Regions from separate parts of the Homo sapiens genome. Here all the other regions are linked to region 3. The links are contacts of gene promoters, found by promoter capture Hi-C in blood cells and fetal thymus (Javierre and others, 2016). All regions are on one chromosome and are shown on one strand. The core of a region is centred on a gene start or on the middle of the fragment in contact, and the rest is flanking DNA. Distances in the headings are between cores, read along the strand shown.

Region 1 (3,206 bases), core at 605-3,104, 320 kb before region 3:
CAAGGCAAAGCTGAATGTGAAGGGGCAATGTCAGGTCTGGAATGCAAAGTGAATCCAAGGACCTCTGACCTTGGAATCTAAAGTTGGGATATATGTAAAATGTTGTGTCCAGAAACCCCTTACCTGAGGCTCTGCACATGGACTGTAAATTAAGGCTACTTCCCTGTGTCAATGACTGAGATCCTCTAAGCAACAGAGAGGTGTTTTATTCTTACTGATGTAATTTCAAACAGTGAAATTTCTGATAGTCTATATTTTAGAGGACAAAGTTTCTCAGTGAGTGAGAAAACAGTAGTCACTCAAAGAAGACAGTTACGACATTTTACAGCTGCACTGTGTCCTTGAGGAAAATAATGTTTTCTGTGAACTTTGCAGCTCACTTTATCCATGTCATTATTCCGGCACGATAGTCGGCCGGCAGATTCTTTCTTTCTTATGTTCAAAAAGAGCATCTGCTTGGCCCAGCCTATCTTTGCAGGCTGCTTCCCAGCTCAGGCACAGGGTGTCCTCGGGTTCCGCTTTCCCCCAGCCCAGGTCTCATCAGTGATACTAGGAAGAAGGCTGTCCTTCAGGCCACTCTCCTGAAGGGGCTGCGGACATAGCCGGTGTCCTGCTGAATGAATTCCACATGAAAATGGGAGCTCCAGCTCCAGAGCTGGGTAAAGTCCCTCATTCAGTCTACTTGGTCAGGATGGAAGCATCCTGCAATGCCCACCCACCACTCCTTGCTCCACTCTGCCTTTCCACGTGGAAGCACGTGTCCTCCGGCAAAGGATAAACTGCTTAAACAAGAAAGAAGTTTCTCTCCAGGTGACAGTCCGGAGGTAGGCAAGTGGTCCAGGGCTGGTGTGTGGCTCTGCCATCCTCAGGCATGGCTTCCGTTTGCAGCTGCAAATGGCTAGTACAGTCCTTGCCAATGCCTAGCCAGCAGGCCAGGAAAGACATGGGAACACACACTCAGTCCTCTTAAGTGCAAGAATATAACATTCTGGGAACTAAGGTGTATGATTTCAGCTCATTTGTCATTCGCAGGACTTGCTCAGGTAAGGGAGGCTGGGAAAGAGACTTGACTTGGTGGCCACGTGCAGGAGCTGTCAACCCTCTCCTAACCCACCACTTAGAGACAGTGCCCTTCTTGTTGGCTAGCCTCTTCCATCCACAGGCAAATGCGTCCTTTCCTCTTTTGTCCTGTCCTAGTCTCTAAAAGAACCAGAGATGTTAACATCTGAGCCTCCCCTGAGTGCAGACCAATGGGGACAGGGCTGCAGATCCTGGGCAGGGATCTCCGTGCTGATGGTGAGGAGACATTGTCAGTGGCCCTTGCTCCACCAGAGTCCTCCCTGCAGCGCCCTTCACCGCCCAGCCCCCTTGCCCACCCCTGTCATTTGGTGCTCAATTTCAGATGCCTGCCCATCCCCTGCCTTGCTCCAAAGAACTTTGGTAGGTAGAGGAGGCACTGCTCCAGGGCCCCAGGAGCATGGGAGTATCCTGAGGCCAGTCGGTGCCTCCAGGGCTCTTCCCGGCCTCCTCCAAACAGCATGTTCTCTTCTCCCTTCCTTGGGGCTAAAAGGAGTCGGACCATGTGAGAGTGGAGGGTACTGAGGTTGTGCTGGCCTTTGTGCTCAGCACCCTCCATCCACTGCCACCCACCTATGCCACTCTCTTGGCTTGTTGACTGGCCAGGCTGGGGACGCAGTTTTCTTACATGTCCAGAGCAAAGCAGTAGAAGACAGGCCAGCACTGCAAGCTTGAGCCTACGTGCTCCAGCATCTCCGAGCTCCCAGGCATCCACCCACCCCACACCTCAGCCACTGGCTCCTGGGCCCTGGCAAGTGCCACATTCCTGATGTGGTGGACGCTGTCCCAACTCATGTCAGGCCAGGCCCAGAGGCAATGGGAACTGATGGACAAGATGGATCACCACCTCCCCACCTACACAATTATTGTAGACATCCCACCCGAAAGCTTGTTCTATAGTTGCCATGGAGGAATGCCCCAGAGGAATGAATTGGTACCAAGGTCATAGTGACTTCATGCACCAAACGCAGGGAGGTATAGCAGTGAAGTGCATAGACTTGAAGTCAGGTTAGCTGCGTTTAAATCTGAGGTCTACCACTTCCCAGCAACTGGGATCTTGAGCAATTATTTAACTCCTCTAAACCTCAGTTTCTTCATTTCTAAAATGAGACTAATAATGGTAGCACACTTCATAATCATCAAGGAAGACTAAAACAATTGTTACACCAAAAGTGCTTAAAACAGGGCCTAGAACAAAATGAGCATTTCATAAATGTTGGCTATTGTTACTTTTCTAGAGGTCTTTGGATTCAATGAATCAATATGACAATACATGACCTTGTGGAAAGACACTAATGGTGGTCTCCCACACATCAAGTCACAGAAGTGGGGGACATAGTTTTAGGGCATTGGGAAAGCTGGTGTTGCTCACAGGGAACTGTCTGATGTAGAAAAGGGCTTCCCGGGAACTGTGAAGTCAGAAAAATTGGTCAAAATCATACTGATTGCTGTTAACATGTCGGAGGCAGGCAGGCTGCAGAGACAAAGCCTCTGGGGTCTCCTGATCACCACTGCGTAAAACCCAGGTTATTCTCCAGCACCCCTAGGACAATCTCACCCCACAAGCAAAAAGGATGGTTGTGTGAACCCTGCTGTTGTAAACCTGGGGCTGGGAAAAGTGAGACCAATTTGTTGGATAAAGATGTGAGGACATTTAAGCCCTTGCCATGCATGAAGTTAGGAAGATGGCAATCATTTTTGCTTATAGCAATGCCTTAAAACTTATCCTATATCAGCAGCTGTGACTGGGAAGAGCCCTGTGCTGGGAGTGCAAACGAGACCATGAGCTTCTTGAGGTAGGTGTGGATCTAATCAATTGCCTGGCACACAGATGATGCTCAGTAAATATTGGCTGGATGAAGTCAGGAAACCTGTGTTCCAGTCTCTGCTCTGTAGGGAGCCAACAGTGTCACCCCGGTCAATATGCCTCTCCTCCAGGGTTGCTGTTCCCCATCTGCCTCTAGACTTGATATCTGAGATTCCATTGAGCAGTAAGATTCTGTCCGTTCCCAGCCTAGGAGCTTGCTGCCCACCTAAGGAGACCTGTCTTGCTGTAAGACCCTCAGGCCTTGCCCTCCTCAACCTCAGCAGGGAGACTGCCTGCCTGAGTTGGAGGTGGTGTGTGTGGT
Region 2 (3,236 bases), core at 88-2,587, 260 kb before region 3:
AATGGAAGGGAAGAACTACAGCTCTGCTAAACCAAAACCTACCACTTGTAGATGCAAAAACTGATCCCTGATAATTAGTGAATTGCTCAAGCTTACTACAGAATTAGAACCAGACTGCAGGTTTTGTAACCTTAGCCCCCTATTAATTTAGAGTTTTATCTATTTTCCTTATACTGAATATAAACTAAAGGCCAGGAGATGAAATCTACTCTTTAACATTAATGTACTACTTAGATCTTAGATATTTTATTGTTAGTTTCTCTGGAAGCTAATACCAAAAGAATAACAGGCTCCCTGTTTTATAGAAATACTATGCACTGGTTAGAAGGCCATCTGCCCTGAACATTCTTCTGTTATTTATTTTTAGCTTATGAAAATCAACACCAAAAATCAATTATTTCACTGGTACCTTGGAAAGCTAAGTAGTGTTGGAACATGACAAGTTAGATGAAAGACCTTTGGACATTTTTCGCAGCACAAGAGATCTCCTCCGTTTTGGCAGACAGCACACCAGTCTTCATTTGGGTCATCATCTTTATTGTTGCCATCTCCTCCAATCCTTGCCGACCTGTGCATGAGGCTTCGAATTGGGGACTTTCCATTAACAAGGCTGCTGAGCCCTGACTGTTTGCAGCTTTCATTCATATCTGCAGGTTCAATTTTCACATGGTTTTCCAGGCTTGCCAATGCATCCAATTCACTTTCTAGATGCAGGTTGGTTGAGAGAGGTGGTGTCAAGCTACTCTCAGGACTGCTCAACTAAAACAAAACGATGACAAATTCTTGAAGAATCATTTAATCTTTATTGTATGCCATATGTGTATTTAACAGTTATGTGAATATGCATATAGATATACTGACGTAACAAATTTATTTTATAGATCACAATAGTGCCATAAAGAAATGACAATAACCCCAAAATTATTCAGGCACGCTAACATATGATTTTAAGGGGTCTGCTCCTCTGATAATGTCTCACTCAAATAATAAGTAAATTAATTAAACTGTTAAGCTATTGATTGGGAAGTGAGCATAGGGTTATACTTTTCCTTGAGAGAGCTAATTATGGCACACCCCTTTTCACACCCAGAATCTTTTGCATAGCATTTTAGAAGCATTCTATAATATTCTTCTGCTCACCTATCATTCTACTATATTGTAGGAAGGCTGCAACAACATAAAAGAAATTGTTCACCAACCTTGGCACCCATTTTTTTTATGGGGGTACTTTCTAAACCAAGTTCTGGATGAAGACGTAACAATACTCCAAAACCAAGGCTGAATCTCTTGCTCTCTGAATCTATATATACTGTGTTAAATATACCAATACCTTGAGATGAATTCCCATGTGCCAACCATATAAAAAAGGAAAAAGAAGCCCGGTCAGAAAGAGAAAACAAAAATCAAAATATTTAAACCAAGAGGGGCTTGGCCTTCCTTCATTCTGTATTAGAAATTTTATAAATGTTCCACTCAAGGAACTCCAGAATGATTAGTAATACGTAAGCCAAAAGACAAACTTCCTATCACAAAACTCTGATCAATAAATTTCTTTCATGTCAGCAATCTTAATGCTGAGCTCACAGGTCCAGGAGAATCCCAAAGATCTTTTGTGGCCTGAGATTCAATGTGACTACTGAAATAATAATTTCAGGACAAGATACAATCTGATTTAGCATCATGGGAAGAATATTGACTAAATACAAATTCAAAGATAATTTCAAATGAGTACTTAATACAATTAAGTCTTTTCTGATTAATTACAGCTGACTCTTAGACAAAAAAGTTGAGTTAGAAAAAGAGATATCTGGCTTGTGCCAGGCATGAAATTTCAAAAATAAATGTTTCTAGACCCACTACTTAGTCTTAATATACTCAGAGCTGAAAGAATCAATGAAGTGATGTCCTTAAGTCCCTGTCAGACTCCAGTGGGAGCTTACCATGCAAGCACTCCTCCTGCCATCCTCTGTTTTTTCTTGTTTTACACCTCCTGAAAAGCTACATATTTCATCTTCAGTCCCAGGTTCTTGCTTGACCTTCACCTGATCAGATTTGAAACTAAGACTTGTCTTCTCAGCAGTTCTTCCTGATGACCCACAGCTAATAAGAAACAACAAATAAAGATCACATACGTTTGACTATATGGTATAAATAAAAACAATTATATGAAAAGTAATGTTCACTAAAGTGAAGACAATAGACAATTAACTTTACAGAAGATAAGGATACCTCATAATGTAGTTAAGGGGAATGTGGTATAAAGCCTAGCTTAAAACTCTTTAAAATTATGCAGCAACTTTCAGAAGACCCTAAAAACACATTTTATGGTTTGAAGCACTTTCTTCACACACACACACGCACACACACACACTCCTATTTCTTAGCTCTGTCCACTGAAAAGGCCTAAGAAACAATGAACAATTCAGTAGCAATGAGTGCTATTAGTACTAGAATATTATCCTCAAACACTATTTTCCTGCTTTCCTGCTAACACTACCAGAACTTCCTGGGAAAGTGGCTGATTCCAGGTCTGAAGCATGAAATGTACAAAATGAACCCGAAATGCTGTTTCACAGGAAACATGGAAGCTTAAAAAAGACTGCTGTGATTATAGCAAAAGGACTAAGGAGCAAGCCTGAGAAAGCTTTGACAGGACAAAGATGGAATAATGTTCAGTGTTCAATATACATACATACAGACGTAACATATATAATGGATTAAAATATATAAAGTATGTTTAAATATCTCAGTCCATAAAGGTAATAACAATAAAACTGTCACTGTTGGAGGGTGTTGGAAATCAATTCATTACCACAAAAGCAGGGAAATAAACAGAAAGAATTTATCCTATCTTTCCTATAACCCAATAGTTGATGACAGAAAGCTTCTCTTTACAGAAATATTCTAAAGAAATAAAGAATGATACAATAATTAAAATGTAATATTTCAACCAGCAGAAAAATAATAGAGCTAAACAATGATTATTAACGGTTGCCATCACAAAAACCCCCAACCAGGCATAATTCGCCCCAAAGGAAGTATATGCCACCACTACACTACCAAGTCTTCTTGCTCTCCCTTCCCCCAAATCAAACCTAAATCTGATCAACCCTCTTGACCTAAATACCAAAATAGACAGAAAAACAGGAGGCAATGTACTTAAATGACAAGATGGAGAAATCGGGAAAACACTGTAGGAGAAACTACATTTTTACAACAAATTAACTGATAGTGAT
Region 3 (3,269 bases), core at 7-2,506:
GAAGATTTAAATCTTCCTATAAGCAGCCCGTCAATTCACAAAAACAAATTAAAGTCTTGATTTGGAACAATATTCCCAGCTTACTTTAGCAGGTATCTTAAACTACAACTATTTAGCTAAGACAAAGAAGTAGATTATTTGATTGCTACAGACTTCGCGGTAAATGATTCAGCAACAGTGTATAGATAACACCACTGTGCTATTCTAGAAAATTTCATCAATCATTTAAAAATAGGACACACTCAAACAATGGGGGTCACTTTGTGGGAAAAGTTTAAACAACTTATTTACACAGTAAGCAAGGATCTATCACTTTATCTAAAACACTGCAGAAGAATCACTAGCTTTAGGGTAAACGTTTGTAAAGTGCCTACTATGTACCAGGCAAGTAGTAGTTGCTTCACAGAATATACACGCTCCACACGCACGTTCAAATATCTGACATTTGTAGAATACTGTCACTCATCTGATTTGACCCTGAGAATACCCATAGGCATGAACTTGCCAGTTTCACAGTTACGGAAAGAGAGGCCCAGGAAGTTAATTTGGCCGAGGTATCACATCTGGTTCCGCGGGTTCTGGCCCTAGACTTGAGCCTTTTGACTCATAATCTAATCATCAGCTGCTATACAGCTCTAGTTACTCAAAAGCTCTTAGGTGTTCCACTGTCAGACTTTTAAATTAAAATTCTACTTGACAACTTTCGGTATTGTGCGTATTAGATGCTGTTAAGAATCAAAACACCAAAAAAAGCAAAATATTGTTTGGAAGTGCATCGTCCCAGCATGTCGAAGTTCAAGCTCACTGGCTAATTTTGGAGAAAGCCCGCGTTTCCCCAGGCTGCCGGGCGCTCCCTCCCTCTTCCCCAGCAGAGAGCGGCGCCCAGCCTAGGGGTCCCCAAGCCCCTGAGGTAGCGAGGAGGTCTTCAGCCAGGCTCCGCCACAACCCGTGCGGCCACGAGAGGACGTCCCAAAGCTGGGCCCAACAACCGGTTGCTCCTCCGGACGGAGGAGGTGCCGAGACAGCGGGGCGCGGAGACACCACCTCCGCCAGCTCGGCTCGCACCGTCCGAGGACTACGCCGCGGCGCCACAGCCCCGCACCCGACGCCCAGAAGGGTGATGCCGACAGCCCCGAGAGTCCGAAGCCCCTGCGGCTTAAAACCCCGCGCCGAATCACCCCGACTCTTACCTGTCTGTACCTCAACGTTGTCTCCTGTGGCCAAGCTAGTCTCCCGGGTATCACTCGGGTCCGCTCCGTCCCGCCCCCGCAGGCCCTGCCGAAGGCCCCGTCCCGGCTGCAGCCCCACCCCCTAGCCCCGCCCTCCCTGGCAAGGCTCAGTTCTTATTGGCTCCTATTCCCACCCCTCACGCTATGCCCGCCTCCGACACCGCCCCGGCCGGCGGTGAGGGGAACCACCACGCCTCAAGTCCGCTGTATGGCCAGAACCTTGCCAGGACCTCGGTCACTGCAGTTCCAGCAGGCGGGCGACCAGTGTCACCGTCGTCCGGCCAAGCCCTCGAGCCAGAGCTCCATCGCCTTCGCCTGCCGTCGCATCGGCCCCACGGAGACGGCCCTATGCTTCATGTGAAGGTTTACTCTTCACAACTACTCAACAAGATAAAGCCTGGCTTAATCAGGGAATCCAAGCACTGTTTCCTAGGCTGACCTCAGTGAGCAAACAATTGCACTACGGTGCCAACTTGAAACGTCAAGAGAAGCAAATAACTCTCGCGGCACCTCAGGCTTGGAATCTCAGAACGGGGGTGCCTTGATACTCCCAGTGCGTGAGGTCAGCCCCCACGCCCTGTTGAGACACACATGCCTAAGCGCTCCGCCTGCAACACGCTCTTGCTTAGGTATGTGCGTGGTGTTGTGCCTACTGCAAGCTGTAACCCAGTTTCACCGAGGCTGCGGGACAAGGATCAGTTGAGCCTGTTTCCCAGGCACTCGCTAACCACCCCACCCCGCCTCGCCCCGCCCCACCCCACCCCACCCCACCCAGCCAGAGCCTCTTGGGTCTGGTGACCAAACTCTTCCTACATTTGTTCACACAGAGGTACCAAAATAGAAGACTACCAGAAAGAGAGGTGTTTAGTTACGTATCACGGATGACTGTCACAAGCAAACTTAACCCAAACAATAAAGGTAGCATATCCCAAACCGTTGTGAAACTATCACCTGTAGACAGTAAAACAGAAATTACATTCTATGATGGGGGAAAAAAAAGTAATGACATACTTAAAAAAAATCATGTCCCAATGAGGAAATAAATGTGGATATTGTTTGTAGTAAATTTTGCACACTGATCATTATGGGCTTCCCCCACCAAAAAAAAAAAAATTCTTATATAATGTGTCTATCTATTTATTTATTGAGACAGGGTCTCTTTGTGTCACTCACACTGGAGTGCGGTGGCCCAATCATAGCTCACTTGAAGTCTCAACTTCCTAGGCTCAAAGAATCGTCCCACCTCGGCCTCCCAAGCAGCTAGTATTATAAGCATGCACCACCACCCCCGGCTAATATTTTTATTTTTATTTTTTTGTAGAGACAGGGTCTCGCTATGTTGCCCAGGCTGGTCTCCAACTCCCGAGCTCAAGCAGTCCTCCTGCCTCAGCCTCCCAAAGTGCTGGGATTACAGACATGAGCCACTGCACCCAGCCCAGAAATGTATTTTTTGACCCCTGCATTCAGGAAGATTATTTGGCAAAATAAGGCAGGTTGAATTCCAAGTATCACGTATGAAACCAAATTTATAGATTAATAAATGAATTCACATGTATGTATTCTACTGCCCTCTCATGGGTAAGATGGAGATATACATAATGGTAGTTAATGCCCTTTGAAGTCTGAGAATACAGTGTTTAATGTAGCAATTTGTACTATTTTGATGATGAGGAGGCCAAGGTAAAATAAAATCTGGTTCTTTAAAGGGTTCACAAATACTCAACAAACAAAACTTCAACTTCAGAAATCAGGAAGAGATTCTTACACCAGAGCTAGTACAAACATGCCATCAGGGTTACACCTATGCTTATGGCTGCATGTGTAGAATATAGAAACGTGCAGAAATTTGCTTTCAATTTTTTTTCCATTTGAAAGTTCAGGCTGGGCACAGTGGCTCACGCCTGTAATCCCAGTACTTTGGGAGGCCAAGGCACATGGATCGCTTGAGCATAGGAGTTTGAGACCAGCTGGGGTGACATGGTGAAACCGCGTCTCTACAAAAGGTTCAAAAAAGTAGCTGGGTGTGGTGGCATGTGCCTG

Evidence for each region. Contacts are between HindIII fragments. The CHiCAGO score rates a contact against its expected background, and 5 or more counts as called.
Region 1: a fragment that was not itself captured here is called in contact with the fragment with the promoter of DENND2C in region 3 in 7 of 17 cell types (total B cells, megakaryocytes, naive B cells and 4 more); the score reaches 9.0 in total B cells.
Region 2: a contact is called between a fragment that was not itself captured here and the fragment with the promoter of DENND2C in region 3, in 1 of 17 cell types (naive B cells). The highest score is 5.3, in naive B cells.

What each region holds. Positions count from the first base shown.
Region 1 is chr1:114,349,537-114,352,742 of GRCh38, forward strand. No RefSeq gene overlaps it. Among named protein-coding and RNA genes, the nearest start is that of TRIM33, 160 kb to the right of the region's middle. RefSeq lists an enhancer at 2,964-3,206. The HindIII fragment of the contact is 218 bases long and covers 1,746-1,963 here.
Region 2 is chr1:114,405,001-114,408,236 of GRCh38, forward strand. TRIM33 (tripartite motif containing 33) reads right to left here. Exons shown (of 20, transcript NM_015906.4): 14 at 1,941-2,100; 15 at 410-759. Among named protein-coding and RNA genes, the nearest start is that of TRIM33, 100 kb to the right of the region's middle. The HindIII fragment of the contact is 2,497 bases long and covers 90-2,586 here.
Region 3 is chr1:114,668,793-114,672,061 of GRCh38, forward strand. DENND2C (DENN domain containing 2C) reads right to left here and starts at 1,257. Exons shown (of 21, transcript NM_001256404.2): 1 at 1,191-1,257. It overlaps LOC124904354 (a long non-coding RNA gene), which reads left to right and starts at 1,619. Exons shown (of 2, transcript XR_007066465.1): 1 at 1,619-1,858; 2 at 2,057-2,162. RefSeq lists a silencer at 1,261-1,350 and an enhancer at 1,471-1,630. The HindIII fragment of the contact is 6,814 bases long and covers 1-3,269 here.